2 separate regions of the Homo sapiens genome follow, and region 2 is linked to region 1. Evidence: promoter capture Hi-C in 16 types of primary human blood cells and fetal thymus (Javierre and others, 2016). All regions are on one chromosome and are shown on one strand. The core of a region is centred on a gene start or on the middle of the fragment in contact, and the rest is flanking DNA. Distances in the headings are between cores, read along the strand shown.

The links. Contacts are between HindIII fragments. The CHiCAGO score rates a contact against its expected background, and 5 or more counts as called.
Region 2: a contact is called between the fragment with the promoter of PLVAP here and the fragment with the promoter of CCDC124 in region 1, in 1 of 17 cell types (neutrophils). The highest score is 5.3, in neutrophils.

The regions. Positions count from the first base shown.
Region 1 is chr19:17,930,039-17,934,875 of GRCh38, forward strand. CCDC124 (coiled-coil domain containing 124) reads left to right here and starts at 2,977. Exons shown (of 5, transcript NM_001136203.2): 1 at 2,977-3,010. RefSeq lists enhancers at 2,055-2,593, 2,740-2,799, 2,820-3,009 and a silencer at 3,090-3,139. The HindIII fragment of the contact is 21,651 bases long and covers 730-4,837 here.
Region 2 is chr19:17,375,058-17,379,894 of GRCh38, forward strand. It overlaps PLVAP (plasmalemma vesicle associated protein), which reads right to left and starts at 2,285. Exons shown (of 6, transcript NM_031310.3): 1 at 1,863-2,285. The coding sequence starts at 2,231. It overlaps LOC105372298 (a long non-coding RNA gene), which reads right to left and starts at 4,715. Exons shown (of 3, transcript XR_936362.3): 1 at 4,623-4,715; 2 at 4,356-4,429; 3 at 3,733-3,773. RefSeq lists an enhancer at 4,103-4,837. The HindIII fragment of the contact is 29,677 bases long and covers 1-4,837 here.

The DNA of each region.
Region 1 (4,837 bases), core at 1,727-4,226:
CTCTAAGTATTTTAATAATCTCTTTTTTTTTTTTTGAGATGGAGTCTTGCTCTGTCCCCCAGGCTGGAGTACAGTGGTGTGTTCTCCGCTCACTGCAAGCTCTGCCTCCCGGGTTCACGCCATTCTCCTGCCTCAGCCTCCTGAGCAGCTGGGACTACAGGCGCCCACCACCACACCCGGCTAATTTTTTGTATTTTTAGTAGAGATGGGGTTTCACCGTGTTAGCCAGGATGGTCTCGATCTCCTGACCTCGTGATCTGCCTGCCTTGGCCTCCCAAAGTGCTGGGATTACAGGCGTGAGCCACCGCGCCCGGCCTTTAATAATCTTTTTACCTAGAAGGCGGGGGAACCTGCTGGGAATTGGCGAAAACTAGCAGTCACGCCCTTTGGCCAGGAGATGGGGAGGTTTGGCCATTTTTGTGGTTTGGACAATGCTCTTGTATTCACCTGTGCTAAGACTCGATTACGGAAGGGTTTTGTTTTTCTGCGGCCAAGTGTGACTGGTCTGAGTGTCCCTGTCTGATGTGGACATTCCGTGAAATTGGTTTGGTCAATCAAAAAACTCTACAGTTTAGCTGTGACTGCCAGGCCAACTGCTAGCTGACTGTGTGTGGTCCAGGGCTACTTTTATCTTCCTCACTTTATATTCACCTCCTCACCTTTGCATATACTGTTCCCTCTGCCCAGAACACCTTTCCCTCTCTTTTTCACTCAGCTCTTTCCTTCTCAAGCTTCAGAGCTCTCCTTAAATGCCACCACCTCTGAGAAGCCCTCTTTGATCACCCAGGCTGTGGGCCTCCACAACCCTATTTCAACCCCAGGCACATCTTTTAGTCACAATTACGATTATTATTTTATTGTTATTATTATTATTATTACTTTTGAGACAGAGTCTTACTCTGTCACCCAGGCTGCAGTGCAGTGGCGTGATCTCAGCTCACTGCAACCTCTGCCTCCCAGGTTCAAGCGATTCTCCTGCCTCAGCCTCCCAAGTAGCTGGGATTACAGGCGCATGCCACCACGCCTGGGTAATTTTTAGATGGGGTTTCACCATGTTAGCCAGGCTGGTCTTGAACTACTCACCAAGTGATCTGCCCGCCTCAGTCTCCTGAAGTGCTGGGATTACAGCTATAAGCCACCACGCCTGGCCTTTATTATTATTATTTATTTATTTATTTTGAGATGGAGTTGCACTCTGTAGCCCAGGCTGGAGTGCAATGGCACGATCTCGGCTCATTGCAATCTCTGCCTCCTGGGGTCAAGTGATTCTCCTGCCTCAGCCTCCCAAGTAGCTGGGATTACAGGCATGTGCCACCACGCCCAGCTAATTTTTGTGTTTTTAGTAGAAACAGGGTTTCACCATGTTGGTCAGACTGGTCTCAAACTCCTGACCTCAGGTGATCTGCCTGGCTCGGCCTCCCAAAGTGCTAGGATTACAGGCGTGAGCCACCATGCCTGGCCTTTATTAGTATTTTTTAAGAGAGGTTCCTTCACCCAGGCTGGCTGGAGTGCAGTGGCGCTATCATACCTCACTGCACCCTCCAACTTCTGGGCTCAAGTGATTCTCTTGAATGGGAGGATGAGCATGCCACCACGCCCAGCTAATGTTTTTATCTTCTGTCGAGATGGGGTCTCATAATGTTGCCCAGGCTGCTTTCAAACACCTGGCCTCAAGCGATCCTCCCACCTTAGCCTTCCAAAGGGTTGGGATCACAGGCATGTGCCACTGCGACCAGCCAGGATAATAATCTTTCATGTGATTTTCCGACTTTAAGCCCCCTGCACCCAGAGACCTTTCTGTCTCATGCCTGAAGGGAAGGAACTGGCCACGGAAAAACCTGGGAAATTCCTGGGGGAACTCCCTGAGGCAAGACTGCGCCTGGCAATTTGTAAGAAGGGGGCTGGTGCGACCTGAGCAGAGAGCTAATGGGAGGGTGAGGGAAGCCAAGGGAGATGGGGTGGGAGGTGGGAGGAGTCTTGCGGGACAATGGGAACCCAGGGGAGGCGTTAGAGCAGGGGAGGTGCATCGCGCACTGGGATTTAGGTCCCAGCAAGGTCGCTGGGGGGATGCCTTTTAGGGAATGGACTCTGTGGTCAACTACTCCTACCTGAACTGCCCCCAAAGCATTTGCTTTTCCCTCTCCACAGTCAGGACCAGTGTAACCTTAGACCCCTAATACTGCCATTTTTACTGTTGAGAACACCGAGAAGTAGTAAATGCAGAAAATCTAAAGTATAGTGCCTAAGACAAATTGGCGCCTCAAACCTAATTTCTAAATAAAATTAATAAATAATATTGCAGAAGTGGGGAGCAGGTCAGCAATCCAGGAAGAGGCACTGGCAGGAGCAAGAGACGGAATTTGAGCCTACTCGCGGTTATGAGCCTACTCGCGGTTACATTTTGGCCAAACTCAATTCCTGGTCTCTCTGAGCCTCGGTTTCCCTACCTGGACTGCGCGGTGTGTGTTAATTTCTCTGCCCCATTTATCTCCCCTCTCCTAGCCCCGCCCCAGCGTCACCAGTGGGACGCAGAGACTCAGGACTAGGAAAGCACTTTTAAAGCGTTAAGGGATTGCGAAGAGCTACGGAGAGGCTTCCTCAGGGCTATACTGGGTCCACCTCCCCTCATGGACCGCGGGCGCGCTCTGGCGGCCGGGCCGCTCCAGGCTGAAGCCGCCGGACCACGTGTGTAGTCGCAGCTGCCATCTTTCATCCGGGCATCGGCCATCTTGGTAAAGGCAATGTTCTAGATTTTCGCCTCTGCCCGCCCCTCCTGGTTCATCAACATATTAAATGAGCGTAGGGAATGAGGGCGTATTAAGTGTCCTCTTTTTGAAGAGACAAAGAAGTGGCTGACTACCCTGGCTTGGGTCCGAGGCCCAGCCATCTTTTTCTTTACCAAAATGGCGGCGGTACTGAGGCGCAATGAGTGCGCGCCGCCAGGAGCTCAGCGCGCAGGCCCCATGATGACGTCACGGAGGCGCGACCGGGCCGGCGCTGGGGTAAGAAGGTAGGAGCGTCTGCGGCGCGGGCGGAACCCGGGTTCGGGGAGCAGAGGCGCGGGGCGGGGGCTGCTTGGCCTGGGACCATCCCCTGGGAAGGCTGGAGGAGGGGTGCTGGGAGGCAGGAGCACTTCTGGCGTCCAGTCTGAACCGCACCTAGTTGGGGGCGATGCCCATTTCCAGACTAGACGATTGAAGCCCGACGCGACAGCATGTTCGAGGCCACCTGGCCCCGGACTGCCCCTAGGCAGCTTCTGGTCTCGAGAGGGACAGAGTTGGGCGCGGACTCCCCCGGCCTCTTGTAGGGGGATTAGTGGTGGGGGACTTCAAAAGGGATAGCCGGGAGGGCTGCTTAGAGGAGGCATTGTTGAATTTTGTATTCTGTTATTTTACCTTCACATCCGTGGGGTCTTAATCCCCATGGGTCTTGATTCGCTTCTAAGTGTGCCCCTCGCCCAGCCTGAGCCACTCCCTGGGTACCGCCTGGGCTCCCAGCTCCTGCCATCTGGGGAGTCCACCTCCTCACTAACCCCAGAGGGCTTGTGTGACCCATAGATTGGGCTTCCCGGCTCTAACGCCCTCCACACCTTCCCATCTCCCTGGAATACAAATCGCCCCCTTTTCCAGCCTACCTCCTGCATCCCGCGTGCAGGCTGCGCTCTCCCCCACTCATTCAGACTTTTCCTTAGATGTCTCCTTTAGGAAGCCCTTTGACCCAGGCTGGGTCAGAAGCCCTCTCCGGGCTTCCCCGGCGCCCTGCGTGTCCTTATTAGGACTCTGATTGCATGTGTTGGCTCTTCTCTGGGAGTCCCATGCAGGCAGAAAGCTCATTTGTGCCACCTCTTTCCCCAGCATCGCACACGTATTAGGTGCCCAGTACATATTTATTGAATGACGTGTGCAAGTGAGTGAGTGTTTACTACACAGAGAAAAGTGTCTGTATTTCCAGCTTGGGCTGTCATAACTAATACCACAGACTGGGTGGCTTAAACAGCAGAAATTGCCAGGCACTGTGGCTCACACCTGTAATCCAGGCACTTTGAGAGGCCGAGGCAAGCGGATCACTTGAGGTCAAGAGTTTGAGACCAGCCTGGCCAACATAGTGAAACCCCGTCTCTACTAAAAATACAAAAATCAGATAGGCATGGTGGCACATGCCAACATGGTGAAACCCCATCTCTATAAAAATACAAAAATTAGCCGGGCGTGGTGGCAGGTGCCTGTAATCCTAGCTGCTTGGGAGGCTGAAACAGGAGAATTGCTTGAACCGGGTGGGTGGAGGTTGCAGTGAGCCGAGATTGTGCCACTGCATTCCAGCCTGGGTGAAAGAGCAAAACTCCGTCTCAAAACAAAAAAAAGCCCCAACGTGGAAACAGCCCAAATGTCTAGCTGTGGACAATGGATAAACAAAATGTGGCGTATCCATGCAGTGGAGGAATATTCAGCCATAAAAAGGAACGAAGGGCCAGGCGCAGTGGCTCAGGCCTGTAATCCCAGCACTTTGGAAGGCCGAGGCGGGAGGATCACTTGAGCCCAGGAGTTCAAGGCCAGCCTGGGCAACATAGTCAGACCCTGCCTTAAAAAAAAAAAAAAAAAGCTAGGCATGGTGGCCTGCACCTATAGTCCCAGCTACTTAGGAGGCTCAGGTGGGAGGATCACTTGAGCCCAGGAGGTCAAGGCTGCAGTAAGCCGAGATTTCGCCACTGCACTCCAGCCTGGGCGACAGAGTGAGACCCTGTCTCCAAAATAAATAAATAAATGTACTCTCACACTGTGTGGCCTTTTGTGTCTGGCTTCTTTCACTTAGTATTGTGTTGTTGAGGTTCAACCACATT
Region 2 (4,837 bases), core at 1,035-3,534, 560 kb before region 1:
GTGATCCACCCACCTTGGCCTCTCACAGTGCTGGGATTACAGGTGTTAGCCAGTATGCCTGGCCTAATTTTTGTACTTTTTGTACAGACAGGGTTTCACCATGTTGCCCAGGTTGGTCTCAAATTCCTGGACTCAGGTGGTCCTCCTGCCTCGGTCTCCCAAAGTGCTGGGATTACAGGTGTGAGCTACTGTAGCCGGTCTTCAGCCACTTATTTGCAGCTTGTGTGTGCTGGACCCCTTTGATTAGTGCTGGCACATTCTGGGAGCTTCATGCATAGTAAGTTATGGGCTCAGGACTGCCAATTAACACACAGGAGGAGAATTAAACTTGGATTCCAAAAAGACAATGAATATTATTTTCAAAATTATATCTCAAATATTGCATGGAATATACTTACAGTTTAAAAAAAATGTTGCTGGCTGGGAATGGTGGCTCATGCCTGTAATCTCAGCACTTTAGGAGGGTGAGCCTAGGAGTTCAAGACCAGCCTCAGCAGCATAGTGAGATTCTGTCTCTAAAAAAAAGTTAGCCAGGGCACCAGGTCAGGGCACGGTGGCTCATGCCTGTAATCCCAGCACTATGGGAGGCCGAGGTGGGTGGCTCACTTGAGGTCAGGAGTTTGAGACCAGCCTGGCAAACATGGTGAAACCCCGTCTCTACTAAAAATACAAAAATTAGCTGGCATGGTTGCACACGCCTGTAATCCCAGCTACTCAGGAGGCTGAGGCAGGAGAATCACTTGAACCTGGGAGGTGGAGGTTGCAGTGAGGCGAGATTGTGCCACTGCACTTCAGCCTGGGTGACAGAGCGAGACTCCGTCTCAAAAAAAAAAAAAAAAATTGCCAGGTGTGGTGGTGCCCACCTGTAATCTCAGCACTTTGGGAGGTCCAGGAGGGAGGATTGTTTGAGCCCAGGAGTTCAAGACCAGCCTGATCAACATAGCGAGACCCCACGTCTACTAAAAATAAAAAATGACCTGGGCATAGTGGCATGTCCATAGTGCCAGCTACTCAAAAGGCTGAGGCAGGAGGATTGCTGGAGCCCAGGATGTCAAGGCTTCAGTGAGCTATGCTCACATCACTGTGCTCCAGCCTGGGTGACAGAGTGAGACCCTGCCTCCAAAAAAAAGAAAAGAAATAAAAAAAATTTAGCTGGACGCAGTGCCCCACACCTGTAATCCCAGCAGTTTGGGAGGCTGGGGTGAGAGGATTGCTTGAGCCCAGGAGTTCGAGACTAGCCTGGGCAACATAGTGAGACCTCATCTCTGCTAAATATAAACATATTAGCTGGGTGTGGTGGTGCACGCCTGTAGTCCCAGCTACTCAGGAGGCTGAGGCAAGAGGATCACTTGAGTCCAGGAGATTGAGGTTGCAGTGAGCTGTGATAGCAATTGCACTCCATCCAGCCCAGGATACACATGGAGACCCTGTCTCTTAAGGAAAAAAAAAAAATCTATCGGCCGGGTGCAGTGGCTCACGCTTGTAATCCCAACAATTTGGGAGGCCAAGGCAGGCGTATCACTTGAGGTCAGGAGTTTGAGACCAGCCTGGCCAACATGGTGAAACCCCATCTCTACTAAAAATACAAAAATGAGCCGGTTATGATGGCACATGCCTGTAATCCCAGCTACTCGGGAGGCTGAGGCAGGAGAATCACTCCAACCCAGGAGGCAGAGGTTGCAGTGAGCCGAGATTGCACCACTGCACTCCAGCCTGGGAGACGGAGCGAGACTCTGTCTCATAAGAAAAGAGAGCATTGGTCCTGTGATCGTCCCCCTCTCTTGGATGAGGAAACTCAGGCTCAGAGAGGTGAGGGGGCTTGCTCAGGGTCCCCAGGGCGAGTGTCCTGCCCACAGCCTTACCCGGTCACCCTGGCACTGGCGGAAGCTGGCATTGATGCGGTCCAGGTCGCGGCGAGCATTCAGCCACATCTGCATGATGGCATCCTTGGCGCGGGTGGTGAAGTTGAGCTCCTTGGTCAAGTTGGACTGGGAGGCCGTGAGCCCTAGGAGCTGACTGTATAGGCCCTCGGCTCGGCGCTCGGTGGCCTGCAGGTTGGACTCTGTGCTCACGTGCACGTTGCCATAGACCATGAAGAGCACGAGCCCCAGGATGATGAGGAATTGGATGAGGGAGACGAAGAGGAAGAAGTAGCGCAGGTAATACCAGCAGCCCCGAGAGCTGCCCCCCGCCCGAGCGTAGGACCCTCCGTGCTCCATGGCCAGACCCATTTGCTCGATCCCGCCGTCCGGTGCACCGTCCCTGCTCACCACCAGGCCTGCTCTGGCCCCCGCCTCGCAGGGGGGAGTGCTTATATTACTCCTCTTAATACTTCCTCTGCCTGGCTCCTTCCTGGCCCGGAGGAAACGGGGGCTGCGGGTTATCACAACACTCCCACTCTGGCTGTGAGAAGGCGGGGGTGGGGCTGGGGGCCCAGAGCCAGGGCACCGGCTGGACCCCTCTGATTAATGCTGGGTGGGGCGCTGGCTGGCTGGTCAGGCATTCCTGGCCTCTTCGAGCCTCGCGTTCGCCTTTACTTGCTGGCGGGTGCTGTTCTCAGTACCTGCTGTGATTAGGTCGCTGAATCATGCCAGGTCTGTTGCTGTCTCCCTTGTGTGGCGGAGGAAACTGAGGCACAGGGAGGAGAAGGGGTTGCCTCGGGGTCTCACGCTGTTAGTTCAGCGAACTTGACTTACCTCAAGACAGGCTGGCTACAGACGTGCACCCACTTCACCAGGGCGGTGCTGATTAAGTGCCACAAAACGTGGGAAATGTGCCAGGCACGGTGGCTCACGCCTATAATCCCAGCACTTTGGGAGGCTGAGGCGGACGGATCACCTGAGGTCAGAAGTTTGAGACCAACCCGGTCACCGTGGTGAAACCCCCCGTCTCTACTAAAAATACAAAACTTAGCCAGGTGTGGTGGTGCTCGCCTGTAATTCCAGCTACCCAGGAGGCTGAGGCAGGAGAATCGCTTGAACCCAGGAGTCGGAGGTTGCGGTGAGCAGAGATCGTGCCATTGCACTCCAGCCTGGGGTATAGAGCAAGACTCTGTTTCAAAAAAAAAAAAAAACAGAAAAAGTGTGAAACTCTTAGCTAGCCTAGGGATGGAGAAGCAGTAGGTGATTAGTAATTGCATAGGAGGGCGTCACGGAGGGCTGAGCCATGGATGGCGGTGGCGCTGGCTCCCCAAGCTCTGTCATTGCCCCCAGTGCCCTGTTCACTTAGATGCTCAGTAAATGCTCCAGGAAACTGCAGCACAAGGAATAATGAACTTGGAGCGGGGAAGAGCTGGCTTTGTCCCGGGAGAGCTCGGGCAAGAGGCCTCGCATGTCTGTGCCTCCCTTTTCCCCTTTGTGAGACGGGGTATACCCAGTGCCTCGTCACTCTGTGGCTGTTGTTATGATTAGGATCATTTCCTGCTGGAGGCACTGCTGGGGGCTCCGTGAGATGGTGAATGACAAGTGGTGGATACGTGGGACTGAGATTCCTCCCCCGACACTCAAAACCCCATGGGCGGCCGGGCATAGTGGCTCACACCTGTAATCTCAGCACTTTGTGAGGCTGAGGCAGGCGGATCACCTGAGGTCAGGAGTGCGAGACCAGCCTGGCCAATATGGTGAAACCCCATCTCCACTAAAAATACAAAAATTAGCCGTGTGTGGTGGCGAGCACCTGTAATCCCAGCTGCTTGGGAAGCTGAGGCAGGAGAACCACTTGAACCCGGGAGGCGGAGGTTGCAGTGAAGCGAGATCGGGCCACTGCACTCCATCCTGGGAGATAAGAGAGAAACTCTGTCTCAAAAACAAAAACAAACAAACCAAAAAAACCACGGGAGTTTTCTGGGGTCGCTGTGGGTCACCCCCCAGTTGGGCCTGGAGGGGATTTGGGGACCCGGAAGCAAAGGATTCTGTGTGTCCTGCCTATCTCCCAGGATCAGGAGCTCCAGGGAAACCCTCCCTGGAGTCCCTTCTTTGTTTGCTCCATGCTGGGTGATGCCAGGGCCCCCCAAGAGGTGTCAGTCCCAACCTCAGCCACAAGCAACTCCCAGTCTTGGGAGACAGACTGGGACAGGTACCCCCCACCCTGTGGAGTCAGGGTGGGCTGGAGGAACAGGAGCAGGGAGCCGGAAAGGAGGCTGGACTCCGGACAGGTGACAATCATGCAATTGCTGTCCTCTGTAGGGCAATGTGAAGGCTGGGGCGTGGGGACCCGTCCCCCCATTAGCCAGGGTAACAGAGTGGGGAGGGGTCGTTGACAGAGCGGAGGGGTACTCCAGGGTGGTGCTCAGTGAGGCGAGTGTAGAGTTGAGAAGAAGGAAGTTCCCAGGGGTGGGCAGGAAACCCATGTCTGACCTTTGACCTTTGCAGCTACCCGGTGGTTCCTGATCCTGATTCCGGACCCTTCCCAGCGGCGTCGTCGGCGGCTGCTAGTGGGGGAAGGAGGGCTGGGGGCTGCCACGGGTGCCCAACCAGCCATTTCTCTGGGTTGGCCAGACCCACCCAGAGCCCCCCAGAGCTGGGCAGGAGGAGAACATCCTCCGTAATGGGGGCAATGTAGTCTGAGTGAACCCAGCATTACAGTTTAGAGTTCTGGAGTTGAGTTCTGACTGTGCCACCTACCAGCTTTGTGGCCTTGGAGAAGTGACTTTCCCTCCCTGGGCCTCAGTTTTCTCCTGTCCGAAGTGGAGATAGCCAGGTGCAGTGGCTCACACCTGTAATCCCAGCAGTTAGGGAGGCAGAGGTGGGAGAATCGTTGGAGCCCACAAGTTCAAGACCCTGTTCTAAAAAAAAAAAAACCCAAAAAACAAAAACAAAACAAAAATCAAGTGAAGACA